Linked DNA regions of Homo sapiens: regions 1 and 2 are each linked to region 3. The links are contacts of gene promoters, found by promoter capture Hi-C in human tissues and cell types (Jung and others, 2019). All regions are on one chromosome and are shown on one strand. The core of a region is centred on a gene start or on the middle of the fragment in contact, and the rest is flanking DNA. Distances in the headings are between cores, read along the strand shown.

Region 1 (2,700 bases), core at 15-2,514, 760 kb before region 3:
TTTTGTTTGTTCGTTTTGAGATTCCTTGGGATTTTCTGTAGAAAGAATCATATCATCTACAAAGGCAGTTTTTTTTTCTTTGACTTCAAGTTTTTTTTTTTTTAACTTCTATTTTAGGTGCCGGTTTGTTATGTAGGTAAACTCGTGTAACAGGGGTTTGTTGTACAGATTATTTCATCACCCAGGTATTAAACCTAGTACACATATAGTTATCTTTTCTGCTCCTCTTCCTCCTCCCCACCCTTCACCCTCGAACAGACCCCAGTGTCTGTTGTTCCCTTCTTTGTGTTCATGAGTTTTCATCATTTAACTTCCACTTATAAGTGAGCACATTCGATATTATTTTTTCTGTTTCTGTGTTAGTTTGCTAAGGATAATAGCCCCAGCTCCCACAACAGCTCATGTTCCCACAAAGCACATGATCTTGTTCTTTTTTATGACTGCATAGCATTCCATGGTATATACGTACCACATTTTCTTCATCCAATCTGTCATTGATGGGCATTTAGGTTGATTCCACGTCTTTGCTGTTGTGAACAGTGCTGCAATGAACATTTGCATGCATGTATCTTTATGGTAGAATGATTCATATTCCTCCATGTATATATCTAGTAATGAGACTGCTGGGTCAGATGGTAGTTCTGTTTCAGCTCTTTGAGAAATCACCATACTGCTTTCCACATTGGTTGAACTAATTTGCATTCCCACCAACAATGTATAAGTATTCCCTTTTCCCCACTACCTCTCTAGCACCTATTATTTTTTGACCTTTATAGCCATTCTGACTGGTGTAAGATGGTATCTCACTGTGGTTTTGCTTTGCACTTCTCTAATGATCAGTGATATTGAGCTTCTTTTTTCATAAGCTTGTTGGCTATGTGTGTTTGTCATCTTTTGAAAAATGTCTGTTTATGTCTTTTGCTTACTTTTTAATGGGGTTGCTTATTTTTTTTCTTGTAAATTTGTTTAAGCTCCTTATAGATGCAGGATATTAGACCTTTGTTGGATGCATAGTTTGCAGATATTTTCTCCTCTTCTGTAGGCTATTTATTCTATTGATAGTTTCTTTTGCTGTGCAGAAACTCTTAAGTTTAATTAGATCCCATTTGTTAATGTCTGCTTTTGTTGTGATTGCTTTTGGTGTCTTTGTCATAAAATCTTTGCCTGTTCCTTTTTTTTTTTTTTTTTTTTCCAAGGCAGAAGAATTTTTCTTAGTGCAGAACAAAATGAAAAGTCTCCCATGTCTACTTCTTTCTACACAGACACGGCAACCATCCGATTTCTCAATCTTTTCCCCACCTTTCCCGCCTTTCTATTCCACAAAGCCGCCATTGTCATCCTGGCCCGTTCTCAATGAGCTGTTGGGCACACCTCCCAGACGGGGTGGTGGCCGGGCAGAGGGGCTCCTCACTTCCCAGTAGGGGCTGCCGGGCAGAGGCGCCCCTCACCTCCCGGACGGGGTGGCTGGCCGGGCAGGGGGCTGACCCCCCCACCTCCCTCCAGGACAGGGCGGCTGGCCGGGCAGAGGGGCTCCTCACTTCCCAGTAGGGGCGGCCGGGCAGAGGCGCCCCTCACCTCCCAGACAGGGTGGCTGGCCGGGCGGGGGGCTGACCCCCCCACCTCCCTCCCGGACGGGGCGGCTGGCCGGGCGGGGGGCTGACCCCCCCACCTCCCTCCCCGACGGGGCGGCTGGCTGGGCAGAGGGGCTCCTCACTTCCCAGTAGGGGCGGCCGGGCAGAGGCACCCCTCACCTCCCGGACGGGGCGGCTGGCTGGGCGGGGGGGCTGACCCCCCACACCTCCCTCCCGGACGGGGCGGCTGGCCGGGCGGGGGGCTGACCCCCCCCACCTCCCTCCCAGACGGGGTGGCTGCCGGGCGGAGACGCTCCTCAGTTCCCAGATGGGGTGGCTGCCGGGCGGAGACGCTCCTCACTTCCCAGATGGGGTGGCCCCCGGGCAGAGGGGCTCCTCACTTCTCAGACGGGGTGGTTGCCAGGCAGAGGGTCTCCTCACTTCTCAGACGGGGCGGCCGGGCAGAGACGCTCCTCACCTCCCAGACGGGGTCGCGGCCGGGCAGAGGCGCTCCTCACATCCCAGATGGGGCGGCGGGGCAGAGGCGCTCCCCACATCTCAGACGATGGGCGGCCGGGCAGAGACGCTCCTCACCTCCTAGATGTGATGGCGGCCGGGAAGAGGCGCTCCTCACTTCCTAGATGGGATGGCGGCCGGGCGGAGACGCTCCTCACTTTCCAGACTAGGCAGCCAGGCAGAGGGGCTCCTCACATCCCAGACGATGGGCGGCCAGGCAGAGACACTCCTCACTTCCCAGACGGGGTGGTGGCCGGGCAGAGGCTGCAATCTCGGCACTTTGGGAGGCCAAGGCAGGCGGCTGGGAGGTGTAGGTTGTAGCGAGCCGAGATCACGCCACTGCACTCCAGCCTGGGCACCATTGAGCACTGAGTGAATGAGACTCCGTCTGCAATCGCGGCACCTCGAGAGGCCGAGGCTGGCGGATCACTCGCGGTTAGGGGCTGGAGACCAGCCCGGCCAACACAGCGAAACCCCGTCTCCACCAAAACCAGTCAGGCGTGGCGGCGTGTGCCTGCAATGGCAGGCACTCGGCAGGCTGAGGCAGGAGAATCAGGCAGGGAGGTTGCAGTGAGCCGAGATGGCAGCAGTACTGTCCAGCTTCGGCTCCGCA
Region 2 (2,700 bases), core at 46-2,545, 550 kb before region 3:
TGGCCTTTGTTTTTCCAAGGGAAATGCAATATTGTCCCTGGGGAGGTAAGAAGCCAGATTGATTTGCCGGCCAAATGAAAGGCGGGTTTGTCGGTTCTCCTGCTGGCTCTCCCATAATTGTGGAGTCCTTACCCAGAGGGCCCCAGTGGCAGGAGTATTGGGGCAGTTAGTCACGCCCTGCAGGGTTCTGACTACGCCTGACTCCTTCTCCACGGGGGAAAATCCTGTGTATTCTATGGCCCAGTGCTGATTCCTCTGAACATAGCCGCTTTCTCCCTCTGAAGTGACTTTTCCCTTGCCAGCCTCGGGAGCTGATATTATCTGTGTCGGGACCCCCGGCGCTCACCGCCCATCTCATTTCGGAGGCAGGTTTGTGGGAGGCCTCTCTGTTCAGAGGCCTAGGTCTGGCCTCGATATCTTTTTTAGGATGGGGAGGTGAGGTATCCACCATCACTCTCAACACTCTCTTTGCACCAACCACAGAGGAATCCGACAAAGGCTGAAGGGAGCACACACAAACTCTGGCTAAGCAGCCCCTGTCTTTAATCCGTCTCTCTTAAAACAACAAAACTATCTTTCTTTGGGGTCGGGAGACACTCCTGTTCAACCAAATGATGGCTTTGGTAGGGTGAAAACATTTGCTGGAAAGTGTGTGTGAGGTTATGTTTTAGGAAAAGTTACTGAGAGCCATTCATCGGCCGGGAGGGAGCCTGCTGACAGTCTCCAAAGCTCATGTTTGAAGATCAAACAGACTCCAATTCTATTTCAAAAATGTGCCCAACCCATCACCAGCCTGGGCCCACTCTTAAAATTGTTCTTTGGTCCAGCTCCTCAAAAGAGCTGCAGAAAGCAAGTCCCAAACAAAAGAAAACAGAACTCCTCTTAGTTCCCTAATCTCCATACCCTTCACCACCTGCCAGAGTGTCCAATCATGCCAATTTGTCCTGTTATCATTTTGTAGGGAGGCGATGAAATCTCTCCTCCATCCCCTTGGGCAGCCTTGGACTAAATGGGAAGGGTGGGATTCTGGAGCCTAGGCAGATGAGGTCATTAGGGATCCAAAAATTCAAAATCAGAAATGCAACAGCCTTCTCAGTAAAATTACATGCACGCGTGCACAGTTTGATATGAACATCTGTGATGCATTAGTGCACTGAAATATCTGTTAAGTGCATCAGATTTTTATTTTTTCTTTCCTCGCAGCATTACTGTTATTGCAAAATATTTGGGTTGGGGAGACAGTGAGAGAAGAAGGCGGGAAAAATAAGGCTTAAAACAGTGTCTTTTTGTTAAGATCTGGGATTTTAGTATTAATGTTGTTTTTAAAATTTTTGTATTTTTTTCTGGACAGAAATAACCATAATTTTGCTTGTTAAATGGAGAAAGAAAGCTTAAGTTTTGGAACCCTGGAAAAAGCTTCTTCCACCCTTGCGCAGCTTGGAAGATCAGGTCTATTGTTAGGTTTTGGTCTTTGATTTCAAAATAAACTGAGGGTGCTAGACCCAACATCACCGTGACTTTGCTATGTGACCTTGGGCAAGTCACTTCCTCTCTCTGGGCCCTGTTTTCTTGGTCTGTGAAATAAGACACTGAGATGAGGTCATCATTCAAGCTCCTTCTAGCCCTGACATTCCATAGGATGATTCTAATCAATTCCACGTGCCAGGCACCCTGCAGGAGGCTCCACACGCTTTTCCACTGCATTGAATTCTCATAACAACCCTATGGCTTTCTAAGGTGGGCATCCAGAAATGTTGAATGACTTGCCCAAGGTCACGTGGCTAATAAGGAACAGAGCCAGTCAGCCTGACTCTGTATGAAGGATGTGTTCTCCCAGCTTCCCCACACTGTTTCTCTAGACTTCCTCCTGTCTAGGTATTTGATATCTTCTGTAATCATTCCTTAGTTCTTTCTTCTGTTTCTCTCTCCCCTTTAGGACTTGAGGGCTTAAAATTGTCTTTCTTGGAAAATTTATACTTGTAGAGATATTTCCTTCGGCTATGAGGCTGGTGGTGAGGCAGGTCTCTGAAGGTTTTCTTGTTGTATTGTAGACAGCTCAGCACAGTGGGCTGGAGATAGGAGACTTGCTTCCAGGTGTCAGTCCCAGCCTCAACACTAAAACCAACGTTTTATATATATATATATATATATATATATATATATATATATATATATATATATATATATATATATAAAACCAACGTTTTAAAACCAACAACTTGTATATAATCTTGGGCAAGACTTGGTATGCCCATCCATCCAATGGGGCAGCAATTACCAGTCTTTCAAAGTTGAGCTGGTTTTTGTGGGGACATGAGAAGATACTACCTGTGGGAGGTTGTTGATGGGTTAAAATGACTACTTGGATGTTGGTTTTGTGCTTGGCAAACAGTCTAGGCTGGCTCCAGGGCAGGGAAAGAGGAAGGCTGCATGGGAAGTTGCCACTCCCTTCTCCCAGCAGCCATATCCACTCGTCATCCCTTGTTGAACGTTGGAGTATTAGGAGGCGGTGAGCCCCTGCCCTTGGGGGCCCAAGGATGCCTAAGTCTTGAGTCCAGATCTTATGACAAGCTTGAGACCTGCAGATTTCTATCAGCTCTGCCTGCTGCCACCAGGGACTGGTACCGGCTGCCACTACTTCTCCCTCTAGGGGACCTGAGTCCTCCCCTTCAACTCCCTGCATGGCAGAGTCGGAGACAC
Region 3 (2,700 bases), core at 80-2,579:
AGAAGGAAGGCCTCTGCCCTGCCCCGGCGCCCCCGCCGCCTGCACCACCGCCCGCGTCCGTCTTGAGGCCCTGGCGCAGAAGTGCGGTGGGCAGACCCGCCGCGGTGCCGGCTGCGGGAGGACTCAGGGACGCCGCGTAGAAGGCTTTGGCGCAGCCCAGCTCCGCGCCCAGGAAGGCGGGCAGGCCTGCGGGGCCCGGGCCCGGGCCCGAGCCTGAGGCAGGCGCAGGAGCTGGGGCCGATCCCGCGCCTGCGAACACCGAGGCCGTCGGAGGTCCGGGTGGAGGCGCGGCGGCGCGGCCTGGGGGTACCGACAGCTGGCAAGGAGCGGCGGCGGCTGCCGCGGCGAAAGCGAAGGCGTGCGGGTGCGGGTGCGGATGCGGGGCCGGCCCCGGCGGGGGTGCGCCGTAGGCCGGGAGAGCCAGCCCGTAGCCGTAGCCGTAGGCGCCGTAGGCAGCGAAGCCGGGCAGGAAAGCGCCGGGATCCCCCGCCGCCGCGGCCCCGCCACGCAGCAGCAGCTCCGGGTGAGGGTGCGGGTGTGGGTGCGGCGGCGGCAGGGGCTGCCGCTTGAAGCGCTTGCGACGCCGCAGGAAGCTGCCGTTGTCGAACATGTCGGCCGACTCCGGGTCCAGCGTCCAGTAGTTGCCCTTGCCCGGGTTGCCCGGCTCGCGGGGGATCTTGACGAAGCAGTCGTTGAGAGAGAGGTTGTGGCGGATGCTGTTCTGCCAGGCGGGGAACTTCTCCCGGTAGTAGGGGAAGCGGCCGCTGATGAACTCGCAGATCTCGCTCAACGTCAGCCGCTTCTTGGGGCTCTGCAGGATGGCCATGGTGATGAGCGCGATGTACGAGTAGGGCGGCTTCACCAGCGGGCTCCGCGTCGCCGCGCCCCCCGACGGCGGTCCCGGCCCGGGCCCCGCTGCGCCGCGGGCCGCCGCGGCGCCTGGCCCCGGGCTCCCCGCTGCGGCCGCCGCCCCCCGGGACGCCAGAGCGCGGGGCTCGCCGTCCGAGCAGCCACCAGACTCCTCCTCGTCCTCGGCTAAGTCTGCCTCGGCTTCCTCCGCGGGAGGCTCGTGGCCGTGGGGGAGCACGTCCCGGGGGGCGCGGGGCCCGGAGCGAGCTGGGAGCTCCCCCCCGCCGCTGCCGCCGCCCACCACGTCTATGTCTGCGTCGGCCTCGGACAGCGCGGCCGGGGAGCTCTCGGAGGACATGATCTCGCAGCAGCAGCTGCCCAGGGTCATGGTGCCGCTGCCGCCGCCGCCGCCACTCTCCGGCTCCGCTCCGGCAGCGGCTCGGGCTCGGCCGCGCTGCCTCTGGGGCGAGTGCGTTTTGCGCGCGGGCGGGGAGGGGGCGGGGGACTGAGGCAGGCAGGGAGGGGTGTCCCCCGGCTCCGCAGCGCCCCCTGGCGGCCCAGCTCGGCCGCGCTCACCTTCCAGGGCACGACCCGCCGGCGGCCCCCGCCACTACCCCGGGAATCCGAGCTGGGACCCGCCGCTGGGGCGCAACGGAAGGAGCTGAGGCTTTCCCTTACCTGGGCGGGCCTCAGCCCCTAGTCCCCTCGGGGTGGCAGTGGTTGGTGGTGGGGGATTGTCCCTCCCGCCTAGCGGCTGCCTAAGGCGGAAGAGCTGCGGGCTAGGGCGGAGCTCCCTGGGCGGGGTGGGGCGAGGCGACAGGGGCGGGCGTAGCGCCTCCGCTGAGGGACCCGGCGGGAACAAACCGCCGCCGCGGCGGGAGCTGGGCTCGAGTGGCCGGAGGCGGGCCCTTGTCTTCGCCGCCGCTCCTGCACCCTGTGCTCCCTGAAGCCGCCGCCTTCAGAACGCTCAGCCCCTGGATGTTAAGGCTCACTCGGGCGCCAGCCGCAGCCAGGGAAGTGGCGGCGGTCCCCACCCGTCCTCTCCCCAAGGCGGCGCCCGGGCCACCGGGCCGAAGCGCAGTGGGAGCGCGAGGCTGAGACGCCGGGACCCACGCCGCCCCAGCGCGGCCCGCCGGCGCCCACCCGAGCCCGCACGGCTTCCAGCCCGAGGGGAGACGCATTCGAGTGATCACCAGGAGCGAACTTGGCGCCCGCAGCCTTGGGCCTGGGAGAGGTGAGATTGCGGCGGCGCCCTCTCCTCCCTCCGCTGTCGGGCCCGCCACCCCTCTCCGCGCGGAGAGGCCGGGCAGAGCGCCGGCCGCTGTGGCCGCGTTCCCGGGGCGCGGGCCGGTCTACTGCTCCGAGTTTGCCTGTTCTCCGACCCTCTGGATCTCGGCATCCGTTTGTCTCAGTCTCTGTGACTATCTCACTCTCCGTGAGTCTCTGTGGAAACGGCATTTGTCTGGATGTCTGTTCATGGGTCTGGGAATCCGCTTAATTTCTCCCTCCCCTCTCCCTGGCCCCAGTTGCCCTGAGGACTGGACACCCCCCACCTTCCTGGCTCCCAGGGTTCTGGGCCCCACCGACAGGCGGCAGGACCTCCTCCGCCCCCTGCCCGACACCCCCTCAGTGAACCCTGACCTCCACCAAGTGTTGCCTTCATCTCTCAAAAGTCTTGTGCAACTAAGGTTGGCCCTGTGCCTTGTTTCTCGCTAGCCGGGTTCCTGCCCATCCTATTAGACCTCTTTCTCCCCCGGCCTCCCTCCAGGACCCAGAAACAAGCAGCTTCAACACAGATTGGGCCCATTTCAGCCTCTGGGGCACGGAAGGGGAGATGGGCGCTGGACGTGA

Evidence for each region. Contacts are between HindIII fragments. The study calls those that stand out against the background at their distance.
Region 1: a contact is called between a fragment that was not itself captured here and the fragment with the promoter of FOXD2 in region 3, in 1 of the 25 tissues and cell types used here (stomach).
Region 2: a fragment that was not itself captured here is called in contact with the fragment with the promoter of FOXD2 in region 3 in 1 of the 25 tissues and cell types used here (neural progenitor cells).

What each region holds. Positions count from the first base shown.
Region 1 is chr1:48,191,796-48,194,495 of GRCh38, reverse strand. No RefSeq gene overlaps it. Among named protein-coding and RNA genes, the nearest start is that of SLC5A9, 30 kb to the left of the region's middle. The HindIII fragment of the contact is 3,743 bases long and covers 1-2,700 here.
Region 2 is chr1:47,990,266-47,992,965 of GRCh38, reverse strand. The region is part of intron 2 of TRABD2B (TraB domain containing 2B); the gene reads left to right. Among named protein-coding and RNA genes, the nearest start is that of TRABD2B, 5.8 kb to the left of the region's middle. The HindIII fragment of the contact is 3,895 bases long and covers 1-2,700 here.
Region 3 is chr1:47,436,673-47,439,372 of GRCh38, reverse strand. FOXD2 (forkhead box D2) reads right to left here and starts at 1,329. Exons shown (of 1, transcript NM_004474.4): 1 at 1-1,329. The coding sequence starts at 1,237. LINC01389 (long intergenic non-protein coding RNA 1389) reads left to right here and starts at 2,056. Exons shown (of 5, transcript NR_126355.1): 1 at 2,056-2,083. RefSeq lists silencers at 1,100-1,279, 1,310-2,209, 2,690-2,700. The HindIII fragment of the contact is 12,527 bases long and covers 1-2,700 here.